2 separate regions of the Homo sapiens genome follow, and region 2 is linked to region 1. Evidence: promoter capture Hi-C in human tissues and cell types (Jung and others, 2019). All regions are on one chromosome and are shown on one strand. Each heading gives the region's core, a stretch centred on a gene start or on the middle of the fragment in contact. The rest is flanking DNA. Distances are from core to core; before and after follow the strand shown.

Region 1 (5,654 bases), core at 2,592-5,091:
AGTTAGCTGAAATAATTTACCACAAGATTCTGGGTGGGAAAAGAGAAACAGAAGAGTACTTCAGAAAGTCATTTCTCTTGAATTGAGGGGTCAGAGTGAATTGTGGATAGAAAAAAGGATGTGGACTGAGAATAGATTTTCAGAATTCAGGCTTTTAAAGATATCATTCTGGGTGATAGCATACTTTCAGGTGTGGCTCATGTGACTGGATTACTGCAGTGAAACAAATGCCAGAGATGAAGATCAGGGAAATAGAGGGAATCAAATATTTTGTTCAGTTTAATTAACTAGGCAATTGATCACCTAGTATGTGCTAAATGGGTTTTGTGTTGTTGTGAACAAGATATAGGTATTTCCTAACCATTAAGTTAAAAAATGTATATAACAATATATATATTTGTTTTTTAAAAACATATATATAAAACCATATGTTTATTAATTAAGAGGAATCAAAGTCACTTACGTATACCTAGATACTTACCATTTCTTATGTTACTCATTTCTTCCTGAAGATCTGTGTTTCCCTGTACTATTATTTTACTTCAGCTGAGGAATTTCCTTTAGTACTTCTTATAGTGTAAGCCTGCTTGTGACAAATTTTCCTAATTTTCCTTTTTTAAAAACATGCTTTTTGAGATTGGTTTTTGGGAGGATATTTTTGCTGAACTTAGAATTCTGTGTTAATTTAGTTCTCTCTGCGTTTAAAAATATCTCAATGTTTTCTGGACTCCTTTTTTTTTCTGCAGGAAGTCAGAAGTCATTTGTATCATTGTTTACTTACGTGTAATGTACATATGTTTCTCCCATGGTAGTTTAAAAATATATTTGGAAATTTTTGATACTCCCTACTTCAAAAGGTGGAGCTGAGGTTCCTCCCCTTGAATATAGCTCCAACTTAGAGACTTGATACTGATCAGCAGAATGGTAATAACTGACTTCCAAAGCCAGGTCATAAAAATGTAGTTCAGAGCACATGTAAAGAGCTTCTCTCTGGCTCTCTGTATTTCTCTCTTCTTGTTTTGAGGGAAGTCTACCCACTATATCATGAAGACGCTTACACAATAGTAGGAAAGAGTCCACATGGAGAGGAACTGAGGCCTCCCACCAAGTGCTGGCTCCAATTGCCTGGCATTTGAGTGATTCATCTAAGTGATTCACCTTGCCAGCAGATCCTCCAGCGCCAATCACATCCAGCTTCAGAGGATGGAGACCTTGCCTGACATTTGGTTACAACAGCATAAAAGCTAAGGACCATAACCTAAGCTGTTCCCAAATTCTTTCCCACAGAAGCTGTCAGAGAAAATAAATGTTTATTTTTTTAAACCATTGAATTTTGGAGTAATTTGTTATGCAGCAATAAATAATTAATACATTTTCTAATTCAAATGTCTGTGGATGTTATATTCAGTGCTCCAATTCTTCAATTTGCTTTGCCTGTGTAAGAGAAAGAAAAAAAATTGTAAAATTCAAGGTGTACCACAACTGAAAAATTAACCTATAGAGGAAAATTATTAATTTGTGGTAAACCAGTTTATTTTAAAAAAACATTTTGTCTCCTTGGTTTGCCATTGTAGCTTGAGCACCTTGTGTAATGCTTGGTACATAATAAGACATTAAATAAATATTGTTAAATGAATGAATCAATAAATTTGCTTCCTCAGGTTTTAAGCTTCTGGGGGACAAAAACTATGCCTTATTCATCTTTGTATCTCCCTCATATGGCACAATTCTTAACACTGAACATGCGCCATTCACTGTTGAGTTAAATTGAACTTAACTGAAATTCTTGTTGAAGTAAATGATCTGGAAATGGAAGTGAAAAATCATAGCAAAAAATTCATTTTAAACGTTTATATTGTACATTGACTAGTGGTGGTTTTCAAGCCCCATCAACCTATCACCAACCAACAAACAAAAAACCCTAAATTCACACTCCATTGCTGCATGGCAGACCACATGGATTTTTATAATTTCTACCAAGACAACACATCTTCAGATGTTTCTAGGGAATCTTTATGAAGCAATATACAATGGTAGGAATTTTACTGTGCTTGGGTTGTAAACTATTGCAAGCTGTTCAATTTAGTAGATTATCTGCACAGGCTGAGTAACCTGTATTGTTCCTTATCCAGTTGAGCCTTAAGCCATTTCAATAGAGCCGAATTTTATGAACATAGTGAATTTAAACACTTATTCACTCTTACTCACTCACTCATGCAACATATAAACTGAGCAACTCTCTTCCTCTTTGGGAGATAAAGCGTATCCAGGGTGTATCCCAGTGGTTTGGAGCACAAGCCAGACTTCCTAGGTGCAAATTTCCAGTGGATCCCTTACCAGCTTTGAGATCTTTGGTGTACGTCTTAATCTCTTGCCTTAGTTTCCTCAATTGTAAAATGCAGAAACTAATAGTACTTACCTCACAAGGTTGCTGTGAAGATTAATACATAAAAATTGCCTGGCACATACTAAGCATGAATAAAAATCAGTTGTTATTGCCTTCAATGCCTACCATGGACCCTGGAACATTGCAAGTGACTTGTAACTTTTGAATGAATGAATGAATGAATGATGAATAAGATGAGAGTTGTGTCTAAACTATGTTTTGTTTTTTTTTGTAATTGCATTCTTTGATCATACAAAAGTTTTGATTGTTCACTCCTTTTTAGAAATTCCCTATTAGATCAAAAAGAGGCAGAATATGTTCTTTGATAAAGGATATACAGGTAATATTGGCACATGATTACCTGGAGTTGGTGTATTAGTCTGTCCTCTCACTGCTATAAAGAAATACCGGAGACTGGGTAATTTGGAAAGAAAAGAGGTTTAATTGGCTCATGGTTCTGTATGCTATACAGAAAGCATGGCAGCATCTGCTTCTGGGGAGGCCTCAGGGAGCTTTTACTCATAGTGGAAGGCAAAGCGAGAGCAAGTGTCTTACATGGCAGAGCAGGAGTGAGAGAGAGAGAGGAGGTGCCATACACTTTAAACAACCAGATCTGGTAAGAACTCATTCACTATAAAGTACCAGGCGGGAATGGGGCTAAACCCATTCATGAGAACTCTACCTCCATGATCCAATCACCTCCCACCAGGCTTCATCTCCAACACTGGGGATTACAATTCCACTGGAATTTGGTGATGACACAGAGCCAAACCTTATTAGTTGGGAATTAAACACACACACTTTGGGCTAAGGGGAATTTTGATTTTTCATTTTAACCCCTTCATAAACGTGGACATGGCAGACAGGAGTCAAAATAGAAAGGAGCATGGAGACTCAGACTTCCAGGTATGCCTTACTGAACCTGTAGAAGGTACATTCTAACTAGCAAGCAGGGCCAAGGCTCTCCCCCTTGACTGCGGGCAATACCTGGGGAAAGGTGAGGGGTCTAATTAAGCCTTTGCATTCCCCAAACTTGGCAAAGTGCCTGGCAGAGTAGGAAGAAAAAAAATTGTTTTTAAGGAATGACGTATTAGACGATCAAGGCAACCAGGAAGGCTTTGGGTTGAAATATTCTAACCTTTGGTCATAAACCTTCCACCTGTACCTCAACTTCCACTTACATAGGCTGACTGCTCAGTTACCAAGCCTTCTCCTTAGAAAGACTTCCTTTCAATGCAAGCAGCAGAAAAAAGCGACTCAGCTTAAACTTCTCCTGGAGTTATGGGAACCGCCTCCTTCCTCTGTCGCTAATGGAGGACTAAGATGGGACTGGGAGCAAAGGAGCGTCTCTGAATGGCGGGGCAGTTGCAGCATCCCACTTGGCAAGGGTCCTTGAATTACCTCCGCCCCCGCCCTGACCCCGCCCTAAACATCAAACTTAGAAACTCATCTTTCAGCAGCAGCGGTAGAGCAGTGACCAGGCGTCTCCGCGATGGGCCCCGGGGACTTCCGCCGCTGCAGAGAGAGAATTTCCCAGGGGCTCCAGGGACTCCCAGGTAGAGCGGAGCTTTGGTTCCCACCTCGTCCCGCGTGCGACTTCTTCGGGGACGGCAGGAGCACGGACATCCAGGAGGAGGCCCTCGCCGCCAGCCCGCTGCTGGAGGACCTCAGACGACGGCTGACGCGCGCCTTCCAGTGGGCGGTGCAGCGCGCGATCTCGAGGCGCGTGCAGGAGGCGGCGGCGGCGGCGGCGGCGCGGGAGGAGCAGAGCTGGACGGGCGTTGAGGCCACCCTGGCCAGGCTGCGGGCGGAGCTGGTGAGAGAGCGGGCTAGGCGGACGGCTCCCAGGGCTCCCTCTCCCGGGTCCTCTCCTCCAGCTGCAGAGCCGCTGGCCGCGTAGCCCACCCGACGCCTTGGGGGGCCCCTCAGGTCTGGACACGGCGTTGACGCCCCCGCCTCCCCAGCATCGTTGGGAAGGAAAAGGGCCCTGCAGGACCCATGGTGGGGGGTGGGGGCGGGGGTGCCTGGTCTACCAGTGACATACCCAAGATGTCTCCTCCCCAACCCGTTTCTATAGTTTTCTGCCCTGTAGGGAACTGTGACTATGTGTATGTATGGCTCGCGGAGGAGGAAATTTCCATGAAATAAACTCTCTCTTGCGATTGATGGAGTGTGTCCATCAGTAACTCTTTCTTTATGCCCCGCAAGTTTTATTCTTATCTTTCCCGTGGGTAATAATTTAGAAAACTGGAAGTGATAAGGTATTTTGTAAAATTGCACCATTTCGAACATTACACAGGTTACATCCGAATATTAAACAGGAGGGTGTATAGGTAAATATTTTAGCTGACTGATTTTTTTTAATTCAAAAAACTGGAAATTAGTCACAACTTGAAAAGGACACAATGAATAGGAGCAATCAGACTTTAAAATGGTGCTGCCTAGGAAAGTGTGCAGTGGAGACTTGACTTGGAAAATTCTTCTCTTTTGCACTGATTACTAATACAATTAACCACTACTTTAGAACTGAGCCAACCATTAGTAAATTGTCTTATTTAAGAATGTTATCGCATTTCTAAGTTTAAGAAGAACAGTATTAGGCCGGAGCTGTGGCTCATGCCTGTAATCCTAGCTCTTTGGGAGGCCGAGGCAAGTGGATCACCTGAGGCCAGGAGTTCGAGACCAGCCTGGCCAAAATGGTGAAGTCCTGTCTCTACTAAAAATACAAAAATTAGCCAGGTATGGTGGCTGGCACCTGTAATCCCAACTACTCCAGAGGCTGATGCAGGAGAATCGCTTGAACCTGGGAGGCAGAGGCTGCAGTGGGCTGAGATTGCGCCATTGCACTCCAGCCTGGGAGACATGAGTGAAACAACGTCTCAAAAACAAAAAAAGGACAATATCCTAAATTCCGTGTCAGATTCAGATTGTTAACATGGGTTACATTAGATTTACTACCAGATTTACTATCTTATCCAACAATGTCAAAGAAACACCTGGTTTTCACCCTGAGTCTAAGCAGTGAGTCTGAGCTGCAGGGTAGCCGGAGCCACCTCATTCGGCCACTGGAGGCCTGTGCTATGGGCCAGGATGCTAAACTGGAAGGCTGAAACCTGGCGCAGCCATCTCTGCATTGTAGTCTTGGGATCTGCCGGTACTCCTTCCTGAGCCTCAGGGGACTCATATTTAAATCAGATGAGGAGATTACACTGAATAAGCTCAGAGACAGCTTTCAATCATAACATTTTAATAAGTTGCTTGTTAGGAG
Region 2 (5,511 bases), core at 2,520-5,019, 140 kb before region 1:
TTGCTATAAATTTCCCCTCAAAACTGCTTTTGCTATATTCCATAAGTTCTGGTGTGTTTTGTTTCCATTCTTGTTTCTCTAAAGATATTTAAAATTTTTCCTTTTCATTTTTCTTTTGACCCATTGTTTGTTCAGGAGCATGTTGTTTAATTTTAGTTTCAATTTTTCCTACATTTCTCCTGTTACTGATTTCTAGTTCCCCTTCATTTTTTAAACAAATTTTTATTAGGTATAGAATTCTAGGGTGATAGTTTTTATCTTTTAGGATTTTAAAGATTTTGCTTCACGTTCTTCTAGCTTTGTATTGTTTCCAATATGTAACCTCTGTCTTCTTTTTTTTGTTCCTCTATATTTAATGTGTCTTGTTCATCTGGATGCTTTTAAGGTTTTTTTTTTCTTTATTACTGGTTAGATGCAATTTGATTATAATGTACCCTTGTATAGTTTTGTTCATGTTTCTTAAGCTTGGAATTAGTTGAGCCTAGGGTTTGTGAGTTTATAGTTTTCATCAAATTAGAAAAGTTTTCCACTATTATTTCTTCACGTGTTTTTTTCTGCTTCTGTCCTTTCTTTGCTGGACTCCAGTGGCACATACATTGGGTTTCCTGAAATTGTCCCACAGCTCAATGATGCTCTATTTTTTTTCAGTGTTTTTTCTATTTGTGTTTCATTTTGGATCATTTCTGTTGCTATACCTTCAAGTTTATTAATCTTGTCTTTTGCAATGTTCAGTTAGCTATTAATTTTATTCAATTGTTTGTCTTTGTGTTTTTTTATTTCAGACATTATAGTTTTCATTTCTAGATGATTGATTGGGGTCTTTAAAAATTTTGCATTGTCTTTATTGAATGTGCTCCATCTTTTCTCTGGCTCTTGAACAATGGAATACATTACAATAAGTGTTTTTGTGTTTTTCTCTACTAATTCTATATCTGTGTCATTTATGGGTCTGTTTCCATCGACTGGTTTTTCTCCTCATTATATTTTCCTGTTTATTTGCATGACTAGAAGTTTTAATTAAATGCCAGACATTGAAAATTGTACCTTGTAGGGTGGCTACACTTTTCTATTCCTATAGATATTGAGATTTTTTTAGGCAGTTAAGTTACTTGGAAACAATATCATTTTAGGTTTGCTGTTAAACGTTATTAGGTGAGATCACAGTTGTGTTAAGTCTGAGGCTAATTCTGCCTCACTTTTTTGGAGCACCTACCCAACATTCTGTAAATTGTGATATTCTTCATTCTGGCTGGTAGGAACAGGAATTTTTTTTGGTGGGGGGGGCTCTGTTTGAATTCCAAGTGTTGCCCCTTATAATGCTTTCAAATGGTTCTTTTCCTATCCTTAGGTAGTTTCCTTACATATAAGCTGATCAGTACTCAGCTGAAAACTCAGGCACCCTCTGCAGATCTCCCAAGTTCTCTCTCTCCGCAGCTCACTCATCTCTGGTACTCTGTCCTGGGAACACGAGCCAGCTTATCTCTCTGGACTTCCAACTTTGTCTCAGGAAGTTTGATGGGCTCCCCTTCCATGCTCTGTAGCCTGGAAACTCTCTCTAGGCAGAAAGTTACAGCAACTGTAGAAGTCATTTCATTTCTTTTTACTTCTCAGGAAACATATCTTTGTTGCTGATGTTCAATATCTTGAAAACCCTTATTTTATATATACTGCTGTTATTTCAGCTGGGTGAGTAAATCTAGTCCCTGTTATTCCATCTTGGTTAAAAACAGAAGTTTCTCAACTGTGGTGTTTTGAGACTTCAATCCTAAAATATTAGTGATATTTGGAAATGAATGGGTGGAGGTAAGAGGTCAATCATGGGTTAATTTCCAAAGAAGAGGAAAAACTGCATGGATATGTACAAGGTTAGTCCAAATGGGAATATTTGAGTTATTTGTTTATTAGTGATGAGTCTTCTCTCTTTGGTGGTGGAAGTTCTATTGACTAAGAAGAGCATATTTTTCCTTATGGTCTCACTGTAGATGGGGCTATATAAAAGCAAAAATACCAGGGACGATCTGTCTTCCAAATCTAAATCTAGGGTAGTTTGGCATATACAGCATTGGGCCTTATTCTCTCTGGAGACTCTTGTGTGGGATAATTATTATTATTCATAATAGTAACAGCCATTACTTCTTGAGCACTTTCTATGTACAGGAATCCTTCTATGTTACACAAATTTATATAAGTATACAACAATCTCAATAGGTAGATACTTTATCATCAGTTTTTAAATAAGGGAACTGAAGTTCAGATAGATAAAATAACACACCACATGTCTCATAGCTACCAAAGTTACAGTTGGAATTTAAACCCAGATCAATATGACTTCAAAGCCAAAATGCTTATATAGTATGGCATGCTAAAGGAACTCTATACAGCCACTTTAGAAGCTTCTTGAGAAGATCCTAAGGAATCAAGAATTCCATAGCATTTTTACATCTCCACACACATTTAGCAAAACATCCTAAGGAGGAAGGGATAGAGCTGGCATTAACCAATATTGGCCTGGATTGAATCAAACCTAGGGAAGAGAAACTAGGGGACTTGAATGGGGCTCTCACTCATCGTAGATGCTTTTGGAGTTCCAGGGCACTGTCCGAATTTTAACCTTTGAAATCTAAACCCAAGTTGAACAGAGATTGACAGGTCTTTCCGAGAAGAAATCTCATGTTTGCCGAAAGCCTGGGGGAAGAGTTGGTCAAGACGTCATGTCGTTCCACTTTAGCAAAGTACTTTGAAGATAAAATCAAGAAAGTTGAATTCTTATTATGTTGGGTAAGAGCTCTAAAGTTCTGTTGCTAAGGCCAGGAGTCAATTGAATTTAATTCAACAAACATTTATTAAATGCCTTCTCTATGCCAGACACTGTTTTAGGGTGGAAAATCAAAGAAGAATAAGACACAGCCCCTACGCTAGAGGAAACCAAAGGTCTAGCTGGGAAAGTGGGTGCATAAACAAATAATTATGATAGGATGGGATAAAAATGTACACAGACAACTCTGAGGGTTCAGAGGTGGGGCCAGGGAACCCCATCTGGGGTTGGGAATGTTACAACAGGATTCTGCAGCCTTGTGTGTTTGCTTCATGAGCAGCATTTAGAGTTTTAAGATTTTTAGTATTACACTAGACTTCCTAGGGCAAATAGCAGTCATGTCACTTTCCTTTTGTTTTTGGTGATTCCAAAGCCACCATGCTGGGAATATACTGAGAGGAGAAAGGAGAATTCAAAATAGAGTCAGGAGCTTGTTCTGCCTTCAGTGTGCTCTGTGATTTGAGTGTGCCACTGGGCCTTTTAATTATCAAAAGGTGTTGATCTTGTGAATACACATTGCTAAGTCACCTGTTGGATATTAATAGCAGAAGCCAAGAGTTTACCCAAGGGAGTGATGAGATCAGAATTCTATTATTAAAGGGTGACATTCTCTTGCTGTGTTGAAATTAGACTACACTGTGATTATATCCTACAGTCCTAGAAAACAACAGCAACCAAGCTACATTCAACTGTTAAAAGTGTTATTCATAATACCTCTTATAGCAAGCTATACTTATTCCTTCCTTTAAATTAAGTTGCCTTTTTCTTATAAAAGTAGCATATGTTGATTAAGTGGAAGTACAGAGCCAATTATTGTGTTAGTTTCCTATTGCTGCTATAACAAATTAACACAAATTTAATGGCTTTAAATAACACAAGTTTATTCTTCTGGAGATCAGAATTCTGAATTGACTTTCCCAGGCTGAAGTCAAGGTGTGGGCAGGGCTCATTCCTTTTAGAGGCCCTAGGGAAAACCTGTTTCCTTGCCTTTTTGTTGCTGGGGGCTACCCACATTTCTTTGTAACCTCCTTCCCTCATCTTCAATTTTGCTTCTGGCATCATATCCCCTTTTCCTCTAACTCTGCCTTCTCCTGAGTTTTCTTTTTTTTTTTTGTTTTTTGAGACGGAGTCTTGCTCTGTCGCCCAGGCTAGAGTGCAGTGGCGCAGTCTCGGCTCACTGCAAGCTCCACCTCCCGGGTTCAGCCATTCTCCTGCCTCAGCCTCCCGAGCAGCTGGGACTACAGGTGCCTGCCACCATGCCTGGCTAATTTTTCTTGTATTTTTAGTAGAAACGGGGTTTCACTGTGTTAGCCAGGATGGTCTTGATCTCCTGACCTCATGATCCGCCCGCCTCAGCCTCCCAAAATGCTGGGATTACAGGCTTGAGCCTTCTCCTGAGTTATTATAAAGACCAGTCTGATCATATTGGGCCAACCCAGGTAATCCAGGATAATCTCTCCATCTCAACGTCCTTAATTTAATGACATCAGCAAAGTCTCTTTTGCCATATAAAATAAAATTCATATGTTCAAGGGATTAGGATATGGAGATATTGGAGGGGGTTATTCAGTCGACCTTAACTACTGTCTATGTTTTGGAGCATTTACTTAATATTCTTCTCGAATTTATATAATTCAGATTATTCTGTATAGATACATTGATGTTATGCCTTTGTCATTTACCCTTGTATTATTTGTCCATCCGAATAAGTTTTTTGAAATAATACTTTTTGACAGCTGTATAATTCTTCTGTAGGGATATATGATAATTTATGAAGTCATTGCATCACAATTTGGACGCAATCGTTGGAGCAATCATGGTTCTAAGAGATAGAGTCCAATTCAACCTGCTTAAGCAAAGCAAGGAAGTTATTGGCTCTGGCAATCCAATGCACTGTTAACAACCAGACTCCATGGGATTCAGCAGGGCTTCAGGGGCCACTGCAACCATGGATTCTAATAGTGCCAGGACAAACTTCATCTTCATGTCCTTTTCATGCCCTCTCACATGTTATGATCTCATCCACTAGAGAGGCACTAGCTGACCACAAGCCCTTTGTTTAACTAAGTCAATCCAAGCCCCTTAAAAAAAAAAGAAAGAAAGAAAAACCCCAGTTTCTTTCATCATGGCCTGAATCTAATCTCAGGGAGTTCAATTGCAGGTCTTGGTGAGCTGGGTCCTTGTCCCTATCAGCAATGCCTGGCAGCTTGTTAGAAATGCGGAACTCAGGCTCCACTCAGGACATAGTGAATCACAGCCTGCATCGTAACAATATCCCAGGCAGCTTGAATGCCCATGGATGTTTGTGAAGCACCGTTCTAGTAATTGCCTTAGTTCTGTCTTTAGATTTTTGTGGATGTGGACAAAGCCTGTGTTGACTGACCAGCAATCAAGGTTTATAGTTGTAGGAGAGGAACAGGTAAGGGCGGTTTAGCAAGACAGAGCAAAAACAAATAGTTTCACAGATTTTTGAGAACCATACTCATAAAAATGATCATTGCCTCTGCACAGCAGTTTCTTGCACCATGAGGCAGCTAAATCTGAATAGCCAAGACCTGCAGCTGTGTCATCTGTAAGTTGTCTGAAGCACCTCAGGAAAATATGGTCTTGCCAAGTAAATCTGGTATCTCTCTGGTTTAGGCTCTGTCCCTGCCTGGTTCACCCCAGAGAGTCAGCTGATTTGTCCTTCCATGTGT

The links. Contacts are between HindIII fragments. The study calls those that stand out against the background at their distance.
Region 2: a fragment that was not itself captured here is called in contact with the fragment with the promoter of AARD in region 1 in 1 of the 25 tissues and cell types used here (IMR-90 fibroblasts).

What each region holds. Positions count from the first base shown.
Region 1 is chr8:116,934,366-116,940,019 of GRCh38, forward strand. AARD (alanine and arginine rich domain containing protein) reads left to right here and starts at 3,842. Exons shown (of 2, transcript NM_001025357.3): 1 at 3,842-4,202. The coding sequence starts at 3,879. RefSeq lists a silencer at 4,112-4,211. The HindIII fragment of the contact is 10,639 bases long and covers 1-5,654 here.
Region 2 is chr8:116,797,870-116,803,380 of GRCh38, forward strand. All of the region lies in intron 2 of LOC112268030 (a long non-coding RNA gene), which reads left to right. Among named protein-coding and RNA genes, the nearest start is that of UTP23, 34 kb to the left of the region's middle. The HindIII fragment of the contact is 4,683 bases long and covers 1,429-5,511 here.